Linked DNA regions of Homo sapiens: all the other regions are linked to region 2. Evidence: promoter capture Hi-C in human tissues and cell types (Jung and others, 2019). All regions are on one chromosome and are shown on one strand. The core of a region is centred on a gene start or on the middle of the fragment in contact, and the rest is flanking DNA. Distances in the headings are between cores, read along the strand shown.

What was found. Contacts are between HindIII fragments. The study calls those that stand out against the background at their distance.
Region 1: a contact is called between a fragment that was not itself captured here and the fragment with the promoter of GLMN in region 2, in 1 of the 25 tissues and cell types used here (heart left ventricle).
Region 3: a fragment that was not itself captured here is called in contact with the fragment with the promoter of GLMN in region 2 in 1 of the 25 tissues and cell types used here (heart right ventricle).

What each region holds. Positions count from the first base shown.
Region 1 is chr1:92,665,013-92,669,072 of GRCh38, forward strand. It overlaps EVI5 (ecotropic viral integration site 5), which reads right to left. Exons shown (of 20, transcript NM_001350197.2): 11 at 927-980. Among named protein-coding and RNA genes, the nearest start is that of EVI5, 120 kb to the right of the region's middle. The HindIII fragment of the contact is 7,230 bases long and covers 1-4,060 here.
Region 2 is chr1:92,297,707-92,301,992 of GRCh38, forward strand. GLMN (glomulin, FKBP associated protein) reads right to left here and starts at 1,281. Exons shown (of 19, transcript NM_053274.3): 1 at 1,219-1,281; 2 at 255-323. The coding sequence starts at 293. It overlaps RPAP2 (RNA polymerase II associated protein 2), which reads left to right and starts at 1,353. Exons shown (of 13, transcript NM_024813.3): 1 at 1,353-1,440; 2 at 2,488-2,533; 3 at 3,770-3,884. The coding sequence starts at 1,368. RefSeq lists enhancers at 379-1,275, 847-1,316, 1,537-1,766 and a silencer at 778-1,115. The HindIII fragment of the contact is 5,439 bases long and covers 1-2,654 here.
Region 3 is chr1:91,808,691-91,812,826 of GRCh38, forward strand. All of the region lies in intron 2 of TGFBR3 (transforming growth factor beta receptor 3), which reads right to left. Among named protein-coding and RNA genes, the nearest start is that of TGFBR3, 75 kb to the right of the region's middle. RefSeq lists an enhancer at 862-971. The HindIII fragment of the contact is 3,821 bases long and covers 1-3,166 here.

The sequences.
Region 1 (4,060 bases), core at 1,451-3,950, 370 kb after region 2:
TGGCCAACATGGTGAAACCCTGTCTCTACCAAAAATACAAAAATTAGCTAGGCGTGGTGGCGCACGCCTATAATCCCAGCTACTCAGGAGGCTGAGGCAGGAGAATCCCTCGAACCTGGGAGGAGGAGGCTGCAGTGAGCCAAGATTGAGCCACTGCACTCCAGCCTGGGCAACAGAGCGAGACTCTCTCTCAAAAAAATAAAAAAGAAAAAGAAAAAAGCACCAAAAGAGTTTGTGAATTCAGATGTCTTTCTTTTAATAAAGCAAAATTCTTAAACCATACTTTTACTACTCAATTCATTCTTATAGCATCTGTAAATGACTACAAAAGATTTTTCATCAAAAGCACACTATGAAAAATAATGCAAAATTTCCATATTTGCCCACTCTATATAAAACAGAGAAAATGTAACAAGTAGATACTAAAATAATTATAAGAACTAAAAGTTTATGCACAATTCCTTTGTGCTGAAAATCAACATGAGTGAATTTTTATATAAGGAATCAGTCACTTCGACTAAAAGCAATCCTAGGCCTTAAAGGAATCACTGCCACACTTCCAATATGCTAGAAAGTCCAGGGCAACATTTGAAACTCATCTTTAAAATGCTATATCAGAATGGACTCCCAACTAAATTATAAAAGAACATACTTTTTAGAAATTATGTGTAAAGAAAACAAATAGTATCAATATGTTACTGTTAATCTCAGTTAAAACCTGAATACTAAAGTTTAAGAACCAGTACAACTGATCAATTTTTATTAGTAACAAGTTATCTGGCTAAATAAATAGTAAGGTAAGCAAGCTAAGCAGTCAATACTACAACATAGGAGACATGTGCCAGAATTTTTGAGGATTTTTAATAAATATACAGAAAAAACACCAGGCATTCAACAGAAGCTTGCATAAGTAGTCACTTACTTACTTTTTCTAATGTCTCGATGCGCTGTTTTAAAAGTCTATTTTCTGTGCGTAACCTCTGCCAAGAAAAAAAAAGTTTTATTTGCAAGCATTTTTGAGAGGAAAAAAAAGATTTCTAAATCACAGTCCTGAAAATGTATCACCTTTTATAAATAAGAAAGGAGTCTAAGGAATGATTACATTATCAAATGTCAAAGACTCAGAGTAAGAAATACACAGAAGGCAGGGCACCATGGTTCACGCCTGTAATCCCAGCTCTTTGGGAGGCCAAGGCCGGCAGATGGCTTGAGCTCAGAAGTTCCAGATGAGCCTGAGTCTGGGCAACATGGCGAAACCTCGTCTCTATGAAAACTACACACACACACAATTTAGCCAGGAATGGTGGTGATGAGCCTGGGCAACAGGGTGAAACCTTGTCTCTATGAAAAACACACACACACACATGCATGCATGCACACACATACACACACAGAATGGTGGTGCGAATCTGTCGTCCCAGCTACCTGGGAGGCTGAGGTGGGAGGCTGGGAGGTGGGGGCTGAGGTGGGGGGCTGGGAGGTGGGGGCTGAGGTGGGGGTGGTGGAAGTTGTAGTGAGCCGAGATTGGACCACTGTACTCCGGCCTGGGAGACAGAGTGAAACCCTGTGTCCAAAAAAGGGAGGGGAGGGGAGGGGAAGGGAGGGGTTGGGAGGGGAGGGAAGGGGAGAAGAAAGGAAAGGAAAGAGGAAAAAGAAAAGGAAAAAGAAGGGAAAGGAAAGGGATAAAGAAAGAGAAATAAATACACCACAGCAAAGGAAATACTCACATTCATCATTCCAGCTGTGATTAAATTTAAATACACTCTACAGTACATATAGAAATAAGCCCTTCCATTTCTATACATACTTACCATAATGACTCATAATCAAATATTTTCTTATGTGTTTTAACATCCTCATTAGACAAAAAAGATTCTAACTTGCCTACCTCCAACAGAGCCTACCTATATAATTAATATTCAAATGTCAGTTGAATGAAGAAACAGGAGATCTAAAAAATGCACGTTCATAGGCTAAACATCAAATTTTCCATTTAGGGCCTGGCTCAGTGGCTCACACCTGCAATCCACTTTGGGAGACCAGGCAGGTGGATCACTTGAGCTTGAGTTCAAGACCAGCCTGGACAACATGGCAAAACCCTGTCTCTACAAAAAATATAAAAATTAGCTGGGCGTAGTGGCATGTGCCTGTAGTCCCAGCTATTCAGGAGGCTCAGGGGGAAGACGGCCTCAGCCCTGGAAGTGGAGGTTGCAGTGAGCCAGTATCACATCACAGCATTCCATCCTGGGCAACAGAGCAAGACCTTGTCTCAAATTTAAAAAAAAAAAATTGCCCATTTAGACTTCAATAGTCTCCATTTATTATACAGTATAGATGACAAGTTGCAAAATTCTGAAAATACAAAGAATTTATTAATTTTTTCTGAGAAAACAACTCCAATTACTAGTATCTCCTCATAGTTCAAAAAGTAAAACCAGATTTTTTTGAAAAGCACTTTACCTAATTATTCAATGCCTGGTTCCCAAAAAACTTGTCTAATTACTGTCATTAAGTATTAAATCCAAGTCACTCTACATTTTTAAAAAGTTATTTTTGCATATCCACCAGTATAATTGCTTATTAATCCCCTTTATAAGTTATCTTTTCATTTTCAAATTCCTCAGATGTTGTCCCACTCTGTCGCCCAGGCTGGAATGCAGTGGTGCGATCTCAGCTCATTGCAACCTCTGCCTCCCAGGTTCAAGCGATTCTCCTGACTCAGCCTCCTGAGTAGCTGGACCTACAGGCACATGCCACCACGCTCAGCTAATTTTTTGTATTTTTAGTAGAGAGGGGGTTTCACCGTGTTAGCCAGGATGGTCTTGATCTCCTGACCTCATGATCCGCCCGCCTCAGCCTCCCAAAATGCTGGGATTACAGGCATAAGCCTCTGTGCCCGGCCTCAAGGTGATAACTTACTTTTTTGTACCAATTTGTTCCAGAACTCAATCAAGGGCCTTCTTCCAGCCCCACCTTCCTATAAATTTCTGCTAAAAAATGTCTGTCTCAGAAAATTCTTCCATCAATTCAACCTATTATTTTGCCAGTAAAGACTTAAATATGGCTTTATATAACATATAAAGTATTAGTTCAGGGAAATGAGAGACTCTATGAATTACTGCATCTTATTAAAGTGGATCACAAATTGAAACAAATCTTAGAGTTATTACAAAGATACTTGGCAAATTAGATTTCTTGTTCTATTCACTAAAATTCAGATGATCTGAAATAGACATTATGATATACAGGAAAGTTAATAACTAATCTCAGACAAAATAACAGCTTGAGAAGTAGAAAATGTTCTTATGTCTTGGCTCCTCCTACTGTGTGCAGCATAGTAGTCTACACAAATAAGCAATTATTAAATGCTGCTAAAGTCTAGAGAGCCAAAGAAATAAATGGGATTCTCAAAATGTTCTCAATCATATTTCATCAACAAAAGGTAATGTTTTATCTTAAAAGATTTAGAAAACTAAGTTCCCACCAGACAACTGAGTGAATAAAGTTATGACAGAAATCATGCTAAAATAAAATTTAGAACTGAAAACACTCATCTGGATTTCCTTCCCCAACCCCTTTTACGGCTTCTGAAATCTATTTCATTATAAATAAAAATCTAAATTGATTTTCTCCCACAAACAACTAACCAAATGCTTAACACCATTTAAAAAATAAATCACCACTTCCTCATTTGTATAATATTTACATCAGGAATTGATCAATAGACTTTTTCAGTTAATACAGACCATTTCAGGGTTACTTTTACGTTTCAAGTGTTACTGTCTTCTTTTTTTAAAACTAATATCACAGTATTTTGGTAATTATAGCTTTGCTATCTGTTTTAATACCTAGTAGAGCTAATATCCCCTGTTCTTACATTTGTTTATTGTTCCCAAACCCCAAATACTAGTATACTAAAGTAGCTAAGAGACTAGGTTTTGAAGTTAGGCAGATTTAAGTTCAAATTCTCATTCTACAATTAACACTTGCACATGACATTCAATGTTTTAGAATCTCCATTTCCTCATCCAGAAATTAAGAGTAATCAAACCTACAGGGA
Region 2 (4,286 bases), core at 31-2,530:
AAGTGACCTTGAAATCTACTGTACCAGTGAAATCTATGAAAAGGATCAGGATTAAAATGTAAAAGGTTATTTAGATAAGTATGTCACCTGGAGAAATAATCCAATCTGCCTCCCCCACTCATGCTCTTTACAGGTCAAAAAAAGCAAGGATTAAAGAAGATAAACAATTTGAGTGACCACAAATATAATTAAAAACAATCTGTGCCCTTCCCATATTTTGAAAGGTATTTAATTTTACAAAAATTAATACTTACACATCTCTTTATTATAGACTGAAGTTCCTCTACAGCCATTCTTATTTCTCCTAGTTTCGATGCTAAAATCTACAAATACAAAACACACTGTTAACTATCCGTGATATTACACTTAAGTATTCAAAAGTTATGTTTCAGTGTGATAAATTATTAGTAAATACAATAAAGAAAATGGAAAGTTTTTGTTGTTGTGTTTTTTGGTCCAATAGCATGCTAGGAGAAAATGTAAAGTTTTAAAGTTGAAATGTTATTACTGAATCTTAGTATGTTTGCCTAAGAAAATAAAGTGTTTTTTTAGAAGCCCTTATTGCATGTTTTAAGTTTTCTAGGAGCATAGTTTTGAAAGCTACTTTGAAGGAAAAAAAAACAAAAAAAACCTCTCGAGCACTCCCAAGAGGCGAGGCATATACGAACTAAAGGGCTTTTAAAAAGCAAAGCACTTCTTTTCTGAAAAAAAATTTCCAAAAGGTGGACCTGAAATCAAAATTCTAATCATCAGGGGATTTTTCATTTTTAATGTCTCACCTCACAAAAATTGGGGTGCAACACAAGCTTATCTATAGGGGGTGAAGATTCAGATGCCCTCCATTCCATTTCTCTCTAGGAGTTGCAGTCCCCAAAGTGATCAATCCAGCTAGTGAAATCACTGTATCACACGGAGACAAGACAACGGCGGCCTTCAGGAGGAGACCATCGCTTCTCCTGGCGGCAAGGCTCGGCCCCAAGCCCTCAGTAGGGGCGCGAGTCAGCCCGGTCCTCAGGGCAGCGCGCTGGAAGGCGAGTGAACACCCCAGCGCGCGTGCGGGCTGCATCAGAGGAAGCCATGTCTTCCGATTCCTGCTCGCCTAGGTGGGCAGGCTCCACCACCTCGCGTGGCCTAGTCGGCCCGCAGCACCAAGTCCGCCGCGGCTCACGGCCAACCGCGAGCCCTGGCCACCCTGAACCTCTCCACAACTCCACTTACCGGCCAGAACCCTCGCCTCTCCCAGCCGCCGCCACCTCCTCCGGCGTCTTAGCCCGCTCTTCTGGCCCCGCCCCGCGCTACGCGTAGGGAGGCGGGGCCTCGGGGCGAGACGCCGGAGCGTGTCCCCGTCCGGCAGACTACTCTCCCCCATGGCGGACTTCGCTGGGCCGTCTTCTGCCGGCCGCAAGGCCGGGGCTCCCCGCTGCTCTCGAAAAGCCGCAGGTAGGAGCAAGGATCTCTTCCCACTTTTGGACCCTGAAAGCTGGGCCCCGATCTCGAGTTATAGACCGCAGCGCGCGGGCGCTCCTGAAAGGCTGCTTCAGGGGAGGGGTTCTCCCAGGTAGAGTAGGCCGAAAGCTTCCCACCGCCGTCCGCACCTCCTGGGAAAGATTTCCTGGCCGCCCCTCACCCCTTTACGCCAGTGTTCCAAGATTTCCCTCACGCGGACTGTGGCCCCAGCCTCTGAGACAAAGGACAGTGGAGGCCCCGGGAACCCAGGCCTGGGGTCCCCGGGTTTCGGGGCAAGTGACTAGGGCAGCGTTGGCAGCTGGCCTTGAACCTAGGACCGGTCCTCCTTTCCAGATTGCTTGGGTGCCCAGTTCTTTAAGGTGCCGGACTCCCCTCTTCCCCCAGAGAGGACGTTTGGCAGACGGAGAGAGGTTTCCCCTAAAAGTACCCAGATCTCAGATTTTCAGGAGTGGTTAATTAAGCAACTATGATACAGAAGAAAATTCAATCCCCAAAGAGATACATTTTAACCAAGAAAAATTAGACAGTAATCAATTTGCAAAAACAAATTGCTCTCCCTTCCTATTTCATTTTGATTTACACACGATTGGACATAAAATATGTGGAAAAGAAGAAAAGGTGGTCTACAGTTTGTTATTTGTGTAGGAATCTATCTTGTACCTAATGTGTTTGTGTAGACCTGACCTACTGCCACCATGTGTAGCTTAACTGCGGGGATGCATTTTGAGAAATAAGTTGTTAGTCGATTTCATCCTTGTGTGACCATCATCGAGTGCACTTACACAAACCTAGATGGTACAGCCTACTTACACACTAGGCTATATGGTACAGCCTATTGCTCCCAGGCTACAAACCTGCACAGCATGTTACTGTACTAAGTACTGTAGGCAACTGTATATCTAAACATAGAAAAGGTACAGTAAAAATACAGTATTTTAATCTTATGAGACCGCTGTCTGTATGCTGTCCGTCGTTTACGGAAATGTCATTATGTAGCACATGACTGTATTTTTATTGTAGGTACTAAACAGACAAGTACTTTGAAACAAGAAGATGCTTCTAAAAGGTATGACAGCTACATGGACAACTACATTGGCATATCTACTTATCTTGTATTACTTGTACCAATTTTAAAACAATAATGGTTACCTTTTTTTTTTTAGAGAAAATTATCATGAGAGGGAAGGGAAAGATCTGGGAAGGCCTATAAATTCTCACATAGACTGTTACATTCCTCTACTCCAGGCTTTAAGAAAACCAAACTAAGCACTCAGACTGCTAGTGAAGGAATGAGTGTCTGTAGAAGGTGTTTGTTTTTCACCGCTTCAGGTACACTCTCCTTTTATTGCTTTATATGCCAGAGACTCACTCTCCAAGTTTCGCTGTCACTCCAAGAAACCTTTTCTGTTCTTTGTTACATCAAGTCCAGATTTTCATTAAAAAGCTGTCTTGTACTAGTTCTGGTTCTAAAAAGGCAAGATATTACCACATATCACACAGAGTTTCTAGAAGAGGAGTAGAATGTGAAGGGGATTAAAAGCATATGTAGCTATGATTTTTATTTTGTGAAGACTCACTAATCTTATATTGGCTTTGGTCTTAATTTACTCATTCTTTCAAAAATTATTTATTGAGTATAAGATATGTCGGACCTGTGTTAGGCTCTGAAGATATGGTGAACAGAATAGACACAGTTCTTGCCTAGTGGAACAGAGGAATAAATAATAATAAATTAATTAGTTAATTAACATAAACAAATACATAATTACAAATTGTGATAAGCACTATGAAGGAAAAGACTGTGATGTTACGAGAAGGAATAACGAAGTCTAATTTAGTTGGAGGTGGGTGGCAGGGAGGTTGGCTGTGAGTTTTCAGCGAAAGCCTTATGCTGAGACCTGCGTGCTAAGTAGACATTAACCATACAAAGAGTATATAAAGACTTATGTATGTGCAGTGCAAAAAGTAGCTTGTTTCCTTTTTGAAAAGTATTGGATCAAAAGTAACAGCATTAGAAAACAGAAATTTGGCCGGATGTGGTGGCTTATGCCGGTGATCCCAGCACTTTGGGAGGCTGAGGTGGGAGTGTTGCTTGAGGCCAGGAGCTCGAGACCAGTTTGAGCAACATAGTGAGACCTTGTCTCTACAATTAAAAAGAAATAAATATTTTTATTCAAAAAATTTTTTAAATATATTTAAATTTAAGTGGCAAAATAGTGAGTTAGGTTAGTATTGTATTTTAAAACATGGAATGTTGGACATGAAGCTTTTAAGTAGATTAAGTTTCTCTTTCAAATTTTAGGAAAGCTGAACTAGAAGCAGCTGTGAGAAAGAAGATTGAATTTGAGAGAAAAGCTCTACATATTGTTGAACAGCTTTTAGAGGAGAATATTACAGAAGAGTTCCTAATGGAGTGTGTATGTGTTAAGTTGACAAATTATTAGTTTTGTAGTATAACATCTTTAAATCTGTGCAGCATGAAACTTCTTTGCATTATTAGAATCTTTGAATTTGTTCTGAGTCATTAGATGCAGATAACAATCCATATAATTCATGCATTTAAAAATAAACAACTATCATGCATTCCTTGTATAATGACTTTAAAATGCACTAATGAAAAATAAGTACGTAACAAGGTGATGACACGTAATGTATATTTCAAAATTAATAAGAGTGGATTTCAAATGTTCTCACCACAAAGAAATGATAAATATGTGAGGTGATAGATATGTTAATTAGCCTGATTTGCTCAATGTATACATGTGTTAAAACATCACATACTACCCCACAAATATATACAATTATTATTGTCAATTAAA
Region 3 (4,136 bases), core at 6-2,505, 490 kb before region 2:
CTTGGCCTCAGGTGATCCACCTGCCTCTGCCTCAGCCTCCCAGAGTACTGGAAGTGAGTCACCACACCGAGCACTGATTTACTTTTGACCAATAATATGGTGCACCTGTCCCTATTCTTCTCACAAGAAGGAAGCTTAAACAGAAGGAGACACTGGCTACAGCATTCATTTTGGAGGGGATAAGAATTTATGGGATGTTACTGCCTAATTGGCTCAGAACAGAGACCAAGAACAAATCTGAAGGTTTGAAGGATGGGAGAAAATAAGATCTTTTTTCTCCTACCCTATGAATTTGGCAGATACAAAATAACTGAAGGATAGTACACTTCTTTATTAAAATGCAAATGCTTTATCGACTTAGATTCAAAATATTAAACTGAACTTTATCCCATAAAAAAATTACAACTTAATTCCTACTAATGCAATATCTGATGGCAAAGTAAGACTTGCAGAGCTACAAAGCTACACCTCATTAACCCTGAGGGATGACATTACCAAATCTGTTCATCTCTCAGACCTTGATTTGTACCTAAGATGATCACTAATTTTCTCTTTTTTATCATTTGCAAACTGGTGTCTAGCAAGAAAGAAAAAGATGGGAGAAAGAGAGGTAAGAATGTGTGCAAAAGCACGGAGGAATAACATGCATTGCATGTGGCATGCTCTGGGCCTGGTGAGCATTCTGTTAGGGCTGGTGGCCAGGGTCTGGGGTGCAGAGTCTGAAGCAGAGACAAGTGGCAAGATGAGAAACTGTAAGAGGGTCAGGAAGGGCAGAAGGGGGAAACCACAACTGCTGGGGAGTTGAATCATCGCCTATAACCACTGGTCCTGATTGCAGATAGGAGACCATGGATTAAAAAAGGAAAATCTGCAAACTTTTGGTTTGGCTGTGCAAAATATTGTTAATTACAGCCATGTGTACACACTGGGCCACGAACTAAAACACATTTACTTTAAGGAGTTTATACATAATCAGGGCACTCACAATTGGTTACAGGAATGAGTCAAATGCTTAACACTGAATGCCAAATTATTCAGCTTAATATATAGGTCCCAATTATAAGACTAAACTCTATTCCTTCCTCTTCAGGCTAGCTAGCCTGCTGCTTCAGGTGCTTCTGTTAGGAGGGAAACTGAGAGCTGACATTTGCAGAGAAATTATGAACACCTGGTCACTGGTGTGCTCTTGCTCCTTTCACAGTGAAGCTAAAAGGCTCTGAGAAGCTGTGGACCTGGTTTTTCCAGAGCTTGTGGCAGTTACAGGCCCATCAAGCAGTGCCATCAACAGAACTACTCAGTGTAGACTGGGTCTTAGAGAGACAGAAGGATTGTGCTCGGCTCAGTTGCTGTGGTTCAGAACCACAGTTTTTTGGGGGTAAGTGGACGGGGACAAGGTCTGGCTTTGTTGCCCAGGCTGGAGTACCATGGTGCGATCTGGGCTCACTGCAACCTCTACCTTCCAGGCTCAAGCCATCCTCCCACCTCGGCCTCCCGAATAGCTGAGACTACAGGTGTGTGCCACCACACCAGCTCATGTCTTATATTTTTTGTAGAGACGGGGTTTTGTCATGTTGCCCAGGCTGGTCTCAAACTCATGAGCTCAAGCAATCCACCTGCCTTGGCCTCCCAAAGTGCTGAGATTACAGGCATGAGCCACCGTGCCTGGCCCAGAACTACACTTTTGTATTGCACCTGATAAAATTCAGAGGTCCCTTAAACTGTTACACCTGTTACTCCTTTATAGCAAATATAAGCTTTTATAAATCTATTGCTTCATTTATTTGGGCATATGTTTGTGTGTCCTCTACTTACCAGAAACTCCATGAGGGCAAGGACTGTGTTTCTTTTACTTCCTCTCTCCCAGTGCTTGACACAGTGCCTGGCATGCGGCACGTGTTCATAAACATTTGTTGAGTGATGAATTCATGTGCCAAACAACCAAACTCCCAAGCTGCTAATTCTCTAAGGACTATGGAGCCAGTCTCCTACGTTTAATCCCAGCGCTGCCACATTTTAGCCTTTTAACCTGGGGCAGCTACTTAGCCATTCCCTGCCTCTGTTTCTTTATCTATACAATGGGGATAATAACAGGATCTGCCCCATAAGACTGTTCTTAGGATCAACTCATTTTTATTATTGTATTACTGTAATTATTACCATCTCTTCAACTATGAGATGTGTTCTGGAAAAAAAAATGCAAAAGAGAAACTTCATCAAAGCACTTAGCTAAAGGAAACTACATCATTTGAGTGCCAAACCTAGCTCTGCGCTTTCTAGCAGGCAGGATGAAAAGAAAATATGATGCTCACATAGATATCATAAAAAGGAAACAAATCACAGGCAGGTGCAGTGGCTCACACCTGTAATCCCAGCACTTTGGGAGGCCAGGGTGGGAGGATTGTTTGAGCCCATAAGTTTGAGACCAGCCTGGGCAAGAGAGTGAGACCTCATCTCTACAAAAGATTAAAAAATTAGCCAGGCATGGTGGTGCACACCTGTAGTCCCATCTACTCAGGAGGCTGAGGTGGGAGAATCCCTTGAGCCCAGGGAGGTCAAGACTGCAATGAGCCAAGATAGTGCCACTGCACTCCAGTCTGGGTGACACAGTGAGACCTTGTCTTAAAAAATAAATTAATAATAATAATAATAGGAAACATCAGCTCTTGCAAGAAAATACTTTTCCAAGGTCTCAATTTAAGAGGCCTGTAATAAAGCAAGAATCAGTGATTTTTAACTTTTTAAACCAATAATTTGCATTATTGTAGGTATGAAAGCAAGAAGCAAACTGGCATTTATTTGCTAAAAGCATGTGATGGAGTTTGTGATCTTGGCATGATATATGCCATGACATATATCAAAAAGTTTGGATTTTGCTGTGTCGGGTCAATAAGCAATTTCTGAAAGGATAAAATCTAAGCAGAGATATCAGTTCAATAAAAGGCTAAGAGAGAAGGGTATAATTCAATCAAATTGTATTTAACCTAAAAATAAGATAAAGTACTGTACTATTATTGTTTAATAAACTCTCCCCCAAAAATTTAAAACTGGGATAAATGAGATACCTGTTCAGAAAAACATCTATTGAGCTTGCTCAAGACGAAACTTTACATAGTAACATACTGTAAAACATACATCTGTATCTGACAAAGCAACCTTCCAAAACAGATGTGTCATATGATGTTTCAAAGCTGATTTCCCTTTTTTTTTTTTTTTGAAGTTTGTCACATTCAGTGAAAGTAACTGCTGTTTTTCAGAAATCCGTGTGTGTTATTTTGGAGAAAACTTTGCTTTGGTGTTTTTCCACTCTGGATCAACTAGCTCCTCTCTTTTCCTCCCAAGCAAACCTTCGTAAACCACACTGCCAGAGGGAACTCACCTTTCTCCCATGGAGACAGCTCTAATACTTGCAAATGGTCAAACTGAAAATAAAATCCCTTGCATGCCATTTCCTCCAACAAAAAGGGCTTTGTCTCAAGATTTGCACAGAAAAACATACCAAAGCTACATCTATTATTTAAAGTAGTAATTCCTTCTCTCAGTATTTCATATTCCTTTCTTCCCACCTTACTTCATCTGGCCCAAAGAACCACCTTTCCGCCACACAATAAATGCCTCACTTATTCAACATTGACTGGCAATGAGATATTCCACATAAGCAAATTATCCAAATAACTAAGTCTTTTCTTGTTTCAAAAAAGTAAGTGTCTTTAGTCAGTTTTAAGGAAAATCTGCCTAAAATGTACTACATGCATAATTTCTTCTTGGCCATCTTAAATATTTTGAGCATCCTGAAACTCGCTTATTGTATATTTTTCTTGAAGATGTAGGGCTGCCATTATGAATACTAATTAGTTTATTAAAACTTGATGTGATTTCAGTTACTATATCTACCAAATGGTCCCATATTTCTGTGCTTTATAGTTTTTTCGGTTTCGTTTTTGAGGTGGAGTCTCGCTCAGTCGCCCAGGCTGGAGTGCAATGGCACCGTCCCAGCTCACTGCAACCTCCGCCTCCCGGGTTCAAGCAATTCTCCCTACCTCAGCCTCCTGAGTAGCTGGGATTACAGGTACTCACCACCATGCCCAGCTAATTTTTGTAGTTTTAGTAGAGATGGGGTTTCACCATGTTGGCCAGGC